Linked DNA regions of Homo sapiens: all the other regions are linked to region 1. The links are contacts of gene promoters, found by promoter capture Hi-C in blood cells and fetal thymus (Javierre and others, 2016). All regions are on one chromosome and are shown on one strand. The core of a region is centred on a gene start or on the middle of the fragment in contact, and the rest is flanking DNA. Distances in the headings are between cores, read along the strand shown. Region 1 holds the start of RBMX (RNA binding motif protein X-linked). Region 2 overlaps ARHGEF6 (Rac/Cdc42 guanine nucleotide exchange factor 6). Region 3 overlaps ARHGEF6 (Rac/Cdc42 guanine nucleotide exchange factor 6).

Evidence for each region. Contacts are between HindIII fragments. The CHiCAGO score rates a contact against its expected background, and 5 or more counts as called.
Region 2: a contact is called between a fragment that was not itself captured here and the fragment with the promoter of RBMX in region 1, in 1 of 17 cell types (naive B cells). The highest score is 6.9, in naive B cells.
Region 3: a contact is called between a fragment that was not itself captured here and the fragment with the promoter of RBMX in region 1, in 1 of 17 cell types (monocytes). The highest score is 5.6, in monocytes.

Annotation. Positions count from the first base shown.
Region 1 is chrX:136,878,626-136,882,805 of GRCh38, forward strand. RBMX (RNA binding motif protein X-linked) reads right to left here and starts at 2,100. Exons shown (of 9, transcript NM_002139.4): 1 at 1,972-2,100; 2 at 694-828; 3 at 392-498. The coding sequence starts at 802. It overlaps SNORD61 (small nucleolar RNA, C/D box 61), which reads right to left and starts at 646; the gene lies at 574-646. RefSeq lists enhancers at 1,025-1,624, 1,426-1,485, 1,496-1,955, 1,625-2,223. The HindIII fragment of the contact is 13,799 bases long and covers 1-4,180 here.
Region 2 is chrX:136,695,750-136,700,401 of GRCh38, forward strand. All of the region lies in intron 9 of ARHGEF6 (Rac/Cdc42 guanine nucleotide exchange factor 6), which reads right to left. Among named protein-coding and RNA genes, the nearest start is that of CD40LG, 50 kb to the left of the region's middle. The HindIII fragment of the contact is 3,550 bases long and covers 1,485-4,652 here.
Region 3 is chrX:136,673,921-136,678,188 of GRCh38, forward strand. ARHGEF6 (Rac/Cdc42 guanine nucleotide exchange factor 6) reads right to left here. Exons shown (of 22, transcript NM_004840.3): 17 at 4,016-4,036; 18 at 2,704-2,797; 19 at 1,087-1,176. Among named protein-coding and RNA genes, the nearest start is that of CD40LG, 28 kb to the left of the region's middle. RefSeq lists an enhancer at 227-286. The HindIII fragment of the contact is 966 bases long and covers 1,560-2,525 here.

The sequences.
Region 1 (4,180 bases), core at 850-3,349:
TCCCAGCTACTGGGGGGGGGGGGGGGGGCTGAGGCAGAAAAATCGCTTAGAACTCGGGAGACAGGCTGCAGTGGGCACTGCACCATTGCACTCCAGGCTAGGCAACGGAGGGAGACTATCAAAAAAAAAAAAAAAAAAGTACCATGTAATGCCATAATTATTCTGAACTGAGAGAATGTTACGAGCATAAGATATAACTCACTACTAGATTTGGTTCTGCAATTACAGAATACTCTTTGGAACAGGATCACAAACAGGATGAGTGGATCCCAGACAGGTATATACTGAAAAACAACGAAAACTCAAAAGCTGTCCTAGACCAGACTTGGACAACTACATGTTATTTTATGCACTAGTAACAGGTTATCATCCATCGTGTAGACAATCTCACCTTTCCATTCATGTCTCTGGCTGCATCCTTAGCGTCTGCTGGGCTTTCAAAGGTGACAAAAGCAAATCCTCTTGATTTGTTGGTTTCACGGTCTTTCATCAAGAGTACTAAAAAGTAGTTTTCAGAAAAATAAAGTGTTACCCTAGGTCAAATGAAATAACCAAAGTAAATGTGTAAACAGAAAGCTCAGAACTTCTTAGAGGACAAAAATACATTATCATGTCAGACGATCAATGCAATCAAATTCATCATAGCTTATATTTTAATTATAATAGCCCAGCCTGTACTGCCAGACAACTCACCTTCCACTATTCGTCCATATTTGCCAAATACTGCTTCAAGAGCTTTCTCATTTGTTTCCGTATTAAGCCCACCAATGAAGAGCTTTCCTGGGCGATCTGCTTCAACCATGTTTTTTTTTTTTTGGGCCGGTGAGTCTGTTGAAAAGGAATAGTATTACCTCACTGCAAAAAGTTCCTCAAGTTTATTGGACACTTTTACTTTCGCACATTTCTCATATTTTCCACTAAAACCATTGTTCCTTAATAACTAAAGAAAACGATAACGAGCTAAGCCTCAGCCACAGTAGGAAGCAATTTGAACTAAGTAGTTTAGTAACACTGCAATTTACATAAAACTGGTTAAAAGGGCCAACTTAACTTTTACCACTACCCTTGATCACCCTTAGCTGTTCTTAAGCAACAGCTGCTTAACATTTGAAAAAGCAACTTTTAGTTCCAGTCCTCTTGCCTTTGAAAGATTCAATTACTCATCACACCCTTCCTAACGATGGTTTTAAAAGACTCCCAAGGTCACAGGCTAGACACAGGACCTTAACACCAAGCCCTCTTCCAACGACTCCTCTTTTCCTCATTAGGATTCCCTACTAAATCCAAGGAGAAATGTGAAGTTTAAGCCAAGTTATGCCGCCCCTCTTCTTCACCGGCCCCCGCCCTACCGAAAATTCTACTATCCGGCCAAAAAGATAAAAACAAATCGTCAACATCGTTTGCTATTAAGTAACGGAACGCGGACGCACACACTAACACTCGACACTCCGTGACTGCAGCGGAACCTAATTAAAACTCGTCATTAAAAACCGCGTGTAAAAGACAAAATGGCGACACTTGGATTCAACCCAGAACCACCGACACTGGTCAGGGGACTAACTTTTACCACCAACATTGGCTGGGAACATTCAGAGGGCTTCTTCTCCGGGGCCGCCAATGAATACGAAGCCCGCAGCCCGCATGGAAGTCCACATGCCCATCATTAGCGCCAGCGCCATACCAATGCAGGTATCGCCGTGGTGCGGTCGCTCCTCGCCCCGCTCCAGCCTACAAAGCCCCGACCTCCGCTACCAACTCCCGCAGATGGCAGCCAAACTTTCTCGAGAAGCATACAACCAAACGGGCCCCCTCATTTGTTTTCCCTCGACCCCCTCAGCTTTATTTAAATAGGTCGGAACCTTTGGGTTCTTAAAATGGCGCCCGCCACCCCCATCTCCAGGGAGATATAATCCCCAGTCCTAACACGGGGAGAGTGTCACGAAAAACGGACTGAGGAAAGGAGACACGTACCGGAGGGGTGACAATGGGTTCAAGCTCCAACGAGCTCGGCGATAGGGGCTTCCTAGCAGCTCAGCACCAGTGGCGGCTGCCGGGTGCGAGGACCGAACCGCGAAGCCGCTAGCACTACTGCGCAACGAGGGCGAACAAAGGAGACAGCAAACTTTATACTGCCCGGGAACGAGGCTGAAGGACCCGGATGGAAACGGAGCTTAGAATTTGAAACGCAAAGGGAGGGGGGAAGTAGTTCCCAGTCTCCCCATTGGCTGGCTCCTCTGTCATTCACCCTTCTCTCCTCCCTTTTTCCCGGGCCCTCGGTGTTGGGTCGACAGACCTTTCTAACCGTTTTCTCTACCCCCACCCGTTCTTTACAAACGCGCTTTTTTTGCTTTACGCTAAAATGGTGCACAGGCTTCCTTTAATAAAGAACTGAAGTTTATTGAGCGTCCTAGTGGGCCGGGCACGGTGCAAAACTTTACTTTTACTTTTCCATTAACTCTTCTAATTGTCAAAATGTGATGAGGGTAGATACTCCTACTATACCAATTTTGCAGAAACGGAAAACAAAGAAGTTTTGGCAATATAATATATTTTCAAAAATTGTCTTTAACAAGTGTTTTTAGTGAGTGTGGGAATTTCTGATAAATACATGTAAATTTCAGATGAGTAAAAAACGTACAAAACAGCATGCAGATAGTACATTCATATAGAACAATTACTGAGCACCTTGTAAATGGTGGGCTCTGGGCTAGGCCAGGAAAATACAACTCCAGGGAAAAGACAAGAGTCAGGCCTGTGGGTAAGGATGCCGGATTTAATAAATGAAAATACCAGGCCGGGTGCAGTGGCTCACGCCTGTAATCCCAGCACTTTGGGAGGCCAAGGTCGGTGGATCACGAAGTCAGGAGATGGAGACCATCCTGGCTAACACGGTGAAACCCCGTCTCTTTTTAAAAATACAAAAAATTACCCAGGCGTGGTGGCACGCGCCTGTAGTCCCAGCTACTCGGGAGGCTGAGGCAGGAGAATCCGGGAGGCGGAGGTTGCAGTGAGCCAAGACTGCGCCACCGCACTCCAGCCTGGGCAGGCGACAGAGCGAGACTCCGTCTCAAAATAAAAAAGAAAATGCGGGACGCTAATTTATTCTGCGAAGCTGTTAAAAAATTTTAAATAAAAATATGGGACGCGGCCGGGGCGCGGTGGCTCATGCCTGTAATCCTAGCACTTTGGGAGGCCGAGGCGGGCAGATTGCCTGAGCTCAGGGGTTTGAGACCAGCCTGGGCAACATGGTGAAACCCCGTCTCTACTAAAATAAAAATAAAAAATAAAAAAATTAGCCGGGCGTGGCGGCGTGTGCCTGTAGTCCCAGCTACTCGGGAGGCTGAGGCAGGAGAATTGCTTGAACCCAGGAGGCGGCGGTTGCAGTGAGCCAAGATCATACCACTGCACTCCAGCCTGGCAACAGAGCGAGACTTCGTCTAAAAAAAAAAAAAGGGACGCCCAGTTAAGTTTAAATTTCAGATAACGAATACTTTTTTTAGTATAGTATGTCCCAAATCTCATATTTTAAAAATTCGCTGTTTATCGGAAATTCAAATTTAACTGAGCATTCTATATTTCATCTGCCCATCCTACTTGTTGAGGGGGGAAACCAAAAAATTTTTTAATTTTTTTCTTAAAGAAATTGAATACAATTAACAAAAGAATGGCATGTTGTGATTAATGCCAGGGAGGAAATAAACTAGTTGCTTTGATGGACAATATTAGGGAGAACAAATTTGATTAAAACATCAGGGAAGGTCTATGTGAAGAGGTGACTTTGGAGATCAGAGCTGAAGGAAGAAAAGAAACTAGCTATGGGAACAGCTGAGGGAAAAACCTTCAGGAAAAGAAGAGAATAGTAAACACAAAGTAGAGAGGAAGAGCTTGGCATATATCAAGGGACAGAAAGAGGGCCAGGTGACAAGAATATGAGGGGCATGAAATGAGGGAGCCAAGATTGGCAGGACCTTTGAGCCCATTAAATGACTGTAGGGGGTAAGTGTGGGAAAAAGGACACTAATAGGGCTGTGGGAGCAGACCAGAAAGAGAGGATGGTGGCTTGAATCAGGGTGGCGGCAGTGGACACGGGGAGGAAAGAACAATTGTTAGATGAATATGATAGGTATCGTGTTTAATGGTGCTATGGTCTAAATGTTTGTGTCCTCCCCCAAATTCATAT
Region 2 (4,652 bases), core at 2,010-4,509, 180 kb before region 1:
AAACATTCCTGGAAATGACAAAAACAAATTTAGGACTGTGGTTCACTCTGGTGAGGGAGAGAAGAGCAGGAAATATTGAAGGGGATACACAGAACTTGAATTGCATCTATAATTTGTTTCTTAAGCTGAATAGTGGGTACGTGGATGTACTTTATATTATCTCTGTTCTTTGTATGCTTGAAATATTTTATACTTTTTTTCCTAAAAAGAAACTAGTAGCTGGTAGGTAGATGTTTAAAGGACACATAGGGCATGGTGACACAGTGCTGGGTGCTTAGTATACATTATTTCATTTAATACTAACATCAATCCTGCAAGGTAGGTGGTTTGACCCTCATTTTACAAGTGAGGAAATTAAGGCTTAGAAATGAAGTGAATTGCCTTGGGTAAAACAGCCTCTAAGTGGTAGAATTGTGAAGTGAGACATTAAAAAAGTGATAAAAAGTTTAGGCTCAGATCAGGCAAGGGCACAGAAGGACAGAAAAGGAAACAGTAAGGAGTTCCACTTTTGAGATGGTGGCATGAGATTCATTGGATGCACTACTCAGTTAAAAAAAAGCGTAGCAGGTGAAAACCATTTAGGCCAGGCGCAGTGGCTCACACCTGTAATCCCAGCACTTTGGGAGGCTGAGGCAGGAGGATCACTTAAGCCCAGGAGTTTGAGACCAGCAGACTCTGGTCAACATAGTGAAAGCCCTGTCTCTATAATTTTTTTATAATTAGCTGAGTGTGGTGGTGTGTGCCTGTAGTCACAGCTGCTCAGGAGGCTGAGGTGGGAGGATTGCTTGAGCCCAGGAGTTCAAGGCTGCGTTGAGTTATGATTGTATCACTGCACTCCAGCCTGGGTGACAGAGCAAGACCTTGTCTCTGAAAAGCCAATAATAATAAAAATAAAAATAAATAAAATATCTAGAAGTTGTCCTAATGATATAAGATAAATGAAAAAAAGTATTTATTCAGGAAAATCTACTAAAACTCAGTAAGAACAGGGAGAACTTACAGCATTTGAGCTATGACCAGCTCTCCCTTTTCTCCCTCCTCCCAACTCAGCTTGACAGAAGCTCCATTCCGGGCAACTGTGACCAAGTAGAGAGGCCTCCCTGGCCTCTCAGCTACCAGTCAAAAAATATGATATCTCACCAGGAGGGACAGGTCATCAGCACATCTCTCCCCTTCAACTCTGTGTAAAAGAGGCTAAATTCCTGGTAAGTGTGCCTGAGAGGTCGAAAGCTCACTTCACGCAGCCCCGACACAGGCTGGAGAGTAGGCCCAATCACCCTCACCCCAGCCCAAGTGTAGGGTAGAGAGTTCCATGCTGGAAAAGGCAAGCTGGAAGAGGCAACCAGAGGGTACCCATGCTGCCCAGCTCCCAGAGTAGTGAGATTTTGCCCAGAGGGAGACGCAGTCCATGGGAACAGAAGAGTTCTGAAGCTCTCCATGAAGAAATTGGTTTTATTTGGAAAAAAGGCATGTGGGGATATTCAAGCTTAAGAGCTCTTGCCAAAACAAAGGAGATTTTGGTAGTAAGCCAATAAAAGGAGGCAGGTAGCTCCTGTCACTTAAGTGCAAAAAGCTAACCCATAGGCCAGCTAGGTCACCAGAGAGAGAACCAGGGAAACAGACAGCCAGGAAGTGCTAAGAAGGATCAGAAGAAACCTCAAAGTCTAGTCTCAAAAAGTGTCTCCACTTGAACTTAATTAGATCAGATGGTGGAGCAATTTATGTCCCCATGAAATTATCAAAAATATTAGAGCCAATCAGCTGGAAATTAGGAGAGCCTAACACCTGGATGTGATACCAAACGGGGCTTAAAGGAGAGATCAGGGAGTGAGACAGTCAAAGACAGCTCTGCTAAGACCACTGTCATTCCAGAGTGACTGCATGCCTGACCAAGGCTGTGCCCTCTGAAGAGCGATACCAGAGATTGTACTCTGTGAGCGAAATAGACTTCACTAAAATAGTCAAATCGAGTTACTAAACAAACACATAAGCAAACAACAAAAACATGTCCCAGAGAGTGGGGAATGAAATCAGTATCACAGTTGTGAAATCTAAAATTACCTAAAATGTCTTGTTCTCAACAACAAAAAACAATATGGCACACAAAGAAACAGCAATGTGTAACTTACACAAATAAGAAACAACAGAAATTGTCAGTAAGAGGCAAAATGTCAGACTTAATAAAGTCTTCAAAGTAGCCATTATAAATATGTGCAAAGAACAAAAGGAAACCATGCTTAAAGAAGTAAAGGAAGCTATGATGACAATGTCTCACCACATAGAGAACATCCATAAAGATGCTGAAATTGTAAACAAAAAGAAAGAAGAAGAACCAAATGAACATTCTAGAGTTTAAAAGTAAAATAACTGAAATTTAAAATTTCATTAGAGGGGCTCAACAGCTGATCTGAACTGGCAGAAGAAAGAATCTGTAAACTTAAAATACATCAATAGAGATTATGCAATATAAAAAGGAGAAAAAAGAATAAAGAAAAACGAATACAGCCTCAGAGAAATATGGAAAATCTTTAAGCAAAAGAACATATACATAATGGAAGTACTAAAAAGAGAGGAGAGAGAGAATGGAGCAGAAAAAATATGCAAAGAAATAATGACTAAAATTCCCAAATTTGAGAAAAACATCAACCCACACATACAAGAAGCTCAATGAATTTCAAGTAGGATAAATGCAAAGAGGTCCACACTCAAACAAATTATAATAAAAATCCTGAAAGTCAAGGAGAAAACTGAAAGCAGGAAGAGAAGAACAACTCGTCATGGGCTAGAGAACCTAGATAATATTAACAGCTGATTTCTCATCAGAATCTTGGAGGCCAGAAGGCAGTGGGATGACATACTCAAAGTACTGAAAGAAACAGAACTGCCAACCAAGAATTCTGTATTCATCCAAACTATCTTTCAAAATGGAAGGTGGAATGAAAACATTCCCAGACAAGAACTAAGAGAATCCTTTCTTAAAAATCCACCTTACAATAAGCACTCAGTGAAGACCTTCAGGCTGAAAGCAAGTAAACCCAGACTTAAATTTAAATTCACATATTAAAACAAAGAGCACCAATAAAGGTAAATATGCAATTATGAAAGACAGTATAAATACATGCTTCTTCTTCTCTTAACTGATATAAAAGCAATTGGCCAAAGCAAAATTTTATAATTTCATTGTTGGACCTATACACACATAAATTTAATATATTTGAAAACCACAGCATGAAGGAGAAAGGTGGGAGCAAAGGTCTGTTGGAATAAGAATATAATACCAGATAGTAACACAAATTCACAGGAAAAAATGAAGGGAAATAGAAATGGTAAATAAGAAAGTTAATATAACAAACACTATAAATATATTTTTCCTTTCCTTTCTTCTCTCAGTTGTATTAATGGACATAAAATTAAATAACAATTATAGCATGTATTATTGTGTATATGGAGTTCATATTTATAATAATAATAACAAAAAGGGAAGAGGAAACAGTTATACAGGAGTCACATTTTTATATATAACTAGAATTAAGTTAGCATAAAAAATGAAGTCCATTCTGATAAGATATATATGGAAAGTTTTAGAGTAACCACTAAAAGACACCCCAAAATATAGTGAAATATTATAGAGAAAATTTATAACAAAAACGTTTAAAATAATAAAAAAATAAAATATAGTGAAAAAATCATTAAAGCACTTCTGATTTCAGCTCTGACATCGAAAGAGCTTGGAAGTCATCACACTATAGTCATAATTAAAAAAATACTGAACAAACTGAAAATCAATGACTTTTGTTAGATTTACTGAGAATTGAGATCACAGAAAAAATCACCACCTCAAAATCTGGAGAAACAGTGAATACAGAGAATTACAGCTGAGATTAGCTTCCCTAAAGCAGAAGCCACTGGACCCAGTAACTGGCAGGAACACTTGCATAGTGATTTTAATGAATTCCTGGAGTCTGAATGTGGACCCCAACTTGAGATTTAAAAGCTCCTGGAGAACCATCTTGAGGCGGGGCAATGCTTTTGTGGGTTTGGGATCCAAAAACCCAAAAATGTTCCATAGTGAAGATCAGAGAAAAATCCTCTCATGTTTTGGGATAGGAGTGGGGGCGGGGTGGAGCATCCATTTTGAAATAATCCCAGAACCTTTTCCAAAACAAAGGCCTGTCTTCCAAGGGAAACTATGTTGCCAAGTCTTATCTGACCTGAGGAAGGTACAATAGGCCAGCTTCAGCCCTCTCTCATCTTCCTGCCATATGTGAGAGGACTAAAAAAGGCTAAGAATTGCTTCTGGAGGTCAATTTCCAGGGACTCAGGTCTACTAAAAAATTGAGACTTGTTCATAACATTATAGAATGTGTCCCCTTCCCCAACACCTTATCACCACATTGACAGGGCCCCAATATATAATAACAGTGGATTACAGGGAGGGATCTGCAAGACACAGACTCTATTTAAGAAGGAGTTCTTAAGAAACCCAAAGATAGGCAGGGCGCGGTGGCTCAGGCCTGCAATCTCAGCAGGATTGGGAGGCTGTGGCAGGTGGATCACTTGAGGTCAGGAGTTTGAGACCAGCCTGGCCAACTTCATGAAACCCTGTCTAAACTAAAAATACAAAAAAATTAGCCAGGCGTGGTGGCACATGC
Region 3 (4,268 bases), core at 793-3,292, 200 kb before region 1:
CAGTGGTGCAATCTTGGCTCACTGCAACCTCCACCTCCCGGGTTCAAGAGATTCTCCTGCCTCAGCCTCCCAAGTAGCTGGGACTACAGGTGTGCGCCATCACACCCGGCTAACTTTTGTGTTTTTAGTAGAGACAGGGTTTTCCCATATTGCCCAGGCTGGTCTTGAACTCCTGGCCTCAAGGGATCTGCCTGCTTTGGCCTCCCAAAGTGCTGGATTACAGGCGTGAGCCATCATGCCCAGTAGAATGCTTCTTTTATGTCAGCCTTAGAGATGCATTACTTTGAAAGAATATGTCAAGGCACCTAAGAAATCCCCTCCCACATTCAAATGATTGGTCACTGGATGTCCAAAATGGAGTACTATGGAGTATTCATTTCTTATGCAGGTGCAAAAACTTCACAAAAGGTATTCTGAATGTCTATAATAATGGGAGACAAAAGACATAATCGAAGTGACCTGTCTTTTTAAAAGCATAAAGATGAATCAGAAAATATTATCTTGCTTTCAGTTTGTAACCTGAAAGTTGTTTGGGGAAATACCCTAACCTAATAACTCCCTGATCAACTTTATACATTTTGGACAACCTCTGCTAAGCAGCTACCTTTCCAGATTTTCAGAGCAACTTTGAAACTTGAGTTTGGTGAAGCATTGTTCGTTTAAATATGCAGCTGATCAAAGATAGTATTTTGACTTCCTTTCCAAATCTGCCTATAAGAAGAGATTAGCATCAGTTCACAGACACAGGAACTCTCTAGGCCCTTTAATTCCTAACTAGTGTTGGTGAAGGTATCTGTGTACTTCAAAGGAGAACAACTTTAAAAAAAAATTTTCACTTCTATCACCTCCAACTCTTTTACTCTTGCATCTCTCTTTCTGGGTGAAAAACAACAGTGGGTAAACAAACCGCTTGGTAGCTAAAACCACCTTATCTGAAAGATGCAGTCCTGCACCACTCCTCTGCACCAAGTCACCTGCTTTCCACACCCTGCAACCCATCCGGGTTGCTTTTCTCTTTTTCTAAAAGACACTAAACAGTAAGGAAGAAACGTCACTCACTAGAGAAAGTAGTTTGGGGGAACCTACTTGAGCCATGGCCTTGTTGAAAATTTGCGCTGGTGCAGTAGGCTTCGATCACTTTAAGGATTTGAGCATCCTCTTCCAGAGCAGCTGTACCTGTGAAATTTAATTCATCATGACTTTTCATAGATATATGCTTTTGGACCCTCAAAATGATGCAGCACACTCCACTGCCTGGGACTGGCTTCTCTGACCAGTAGAGTTTGTGAAAGGCAGGAGAAAGAGCTGTCCAACGCTGGTGATGGAGAAGAGTGACAGCATCCTCATGGAGCTTTGGAGTCAGCCTCAGTGAGCTCAGCTTAGTGGAGGGCCTACTCCTGAAGCCCAGAGCTCTACACTGGGACCGGGGTGGGGGGGGCGGTGTTTTGTCAGTGGTCTCAGTGAGGCCAAAATCACAGCACTGAGCTTGTTGCTAGCTTAGCTCCCATCAATATACCCCAGCCTTCCTCTCCTTTAAATTTCAAGGCTCACCTTTAGGAAGCTTTCCCTCATTAACCCCACTCAATTTTCTTTTCTTTTCTTTTCTTTTTTTTGAGACGGAGTCTTACACTCTTGCCCAGGCTGGAGTGCAGTGGCGCGATCTCGGCTCACTGCAAGCTCCGCCTCCCGGGTTCACGCCATTCTCCTGCCTCAGCCTCCCGAGTTGTTGGGACTACAGGCACCCGCCACCACACCCGGCTAATTTTTTTTGTATTTTTTTTAGTAGAGACGAGGTTTCACCATGTTAGCCAGGATGGTCTCGATCTCCTGACCTTGTGATCTGCCCGCCTCAGCCTCCCAAAGTGCTGGGATTACAGGCATGAGCCACCGTGCCCGGCCAACCCCACCCAATTTTCTAACCAGTCAGCATAGTCACTCATTTTCCCTTCTCCCTTCTCCTCTACTCCAAACTCATTCTTGCAATGGCTGGATGGCAGCACCCTGTGAACACGCCAGTGTGCATAACCAGGTGTGGGGTGGGGGGTGGGGCATGCCAAAGCTGAAGTGGAGCAAATATTTATCCAAACTATATTCCCAGCTGATACACACAATTCTGTCACCTCTTTGTGAGACATCACTTACTCCTTCACATGTGTCCCAAAGTACCTTGTGTCCCAAAGTACCTTGTTCACAGCCTTATAGCCAAATATGTCCATATCGACTGGCTGACTGACTTTGCAGTCTGTCTCCAAATGAAACTATGTTTCTAGATGTGGGCAGGCTGATTCCCTGAGTAACTGAGAGCATCACTGAGCATGGGACTTCTGGAAGGACTTCAGCCTTCGGGTCTATTTAGTCTATCTCCCTGCAGAAAAATATCTCAAGTATCAGAAACTAAGAGGGAAAAAATGTATCCATAGGAAATGGGTCCCTTTAGAGGTTCTAAACCAGGTGAGGCAAAATACTCAACACAAAAATGATACAGATGACATCTGCCTAAGATGACATGAAGTGCAGCCGTAAGAAGCTTATTCAAATGTTTAAGAAGTGACCAAAGCTTTCCATGCATTCTTCTTTATATGTAAAAGACGATGTCAAGAAAAAATTGCTCCAATCATCTGCTTTCAAATAAATCCTCACATAAAAGAAGATTCTCATGTTAATTTATCCATAAACAACTTTCAGAAAGTACAAAACACATACTTTTCCTAATCACATATTCCTCCTCCGATGGTTTTCTCTCAGTCTTCCTTTTATGAAGAAATTTCTTCATCGTTTTAGGGCTTTTACTAGACTCCTGTGAGGACAGAGGTTTCTTAATGAATTAAAATTCTCCCTCAAAAACAAAAGTAAAAGCATGAATGAAACTAAGTAGAATTCCTCTCTCTTATTTTGACAGTCTCAGTTAGGAGTACATCAATGTTTAATTCTATGCACAATTAAAATGGTTCCAATAAACTCTAAAAGGTTAAATAAAACAGAGGCAATGACATTATCCTCTCAACTTGCACAGAGGTGGGACTAAGAGTGGAGTGTGCCTACTGAAGATGTGGCAGATTCTCCAGGAGGCCAAATGGCTTTAGGGAACCATCTGCAGAGAAAGTAAGGGATGTCAACCCTAAAAACGTAACAGTATTCCTAATTTGGTTTACGTTCCCCACTGATACAGTTTTAGGGGAACTAAATAACCACTGTAACCACTAATGTAGTAATGATCACTTTTCAAAGAGCTTCAAAGCTATTTAAATAATTCTGCCTTAGAAACAGTCCCACAAATAAGAATATAATTTCCATTTGTGAGACAGAAAAATTAAGGCAGAGAGACTAAGCCATTTTTCCGCAGTCAAAGAGAAGAACCAAATGAAGGATTTCCTAAAAAATAATTTTGGGTTAGAAGTAACACACCCACAGCCAAACTTAACTATCCATATATAAAGCCATGTATTTAACTAGTAGACAAAATAAATGTATTGAATTTGTTTTTGCCATATGAGTAACCAGCAGGTCAAAAAAATACTCATTGTCAATATCCTTAATCCTTAATCCAATAATCTGTAAACAGATTACAACCTTAGACTTAGGAAAAAACTCTCATGATCACCTAATCCCAATTTTCCAAGAAATGTGTATACATGGAGCATGGATATTAATTATTAATAGTACCTTAAAAATATAGGAAACAAATCATTTAATTTATTTCACTTAGCCACAGTACTTACACTTGAAAACAAGACAGATATGAAAAACTCTCACATGACAAAAATAACAGGAAAAAACAGAATTTAAAAAAAAACACAGGAAAATGGGCATTTTAGGGCATTATGACATTTTTATATGTATTTCACACAAGCCTGCTTTTTGAACAAAGTACTTACATGTCAAAATTGCATCTTCATATTTTAGCCACCAATTATAACAAGGGACAAAACAAGCATAAGGGAAAGCTTCATTCATCAAAGGTTACAGTACAGCATTATGATGTCACTGTAAGCCAAAGATATTGTACTACCCTTACCTTTAAGATATAAGACATCCTCTAAAATGAATATGTAAAGAAAGAGAAGATGAGCGTGAGAGGTCGATGGTTATAATGACCAAATCCACTTATCAATAATTCTAAAACAACATTTGAAATGTTAGTGTTATCATAAATTACACAGAGGGAATATAATCACATTTCCCACATTAGTTTCAGATGCAATATTATCATGCAAAAGCCCGAGGAATACAGTTCTGTGCAGAATAACAAATGCTGAAAACAACTGAAA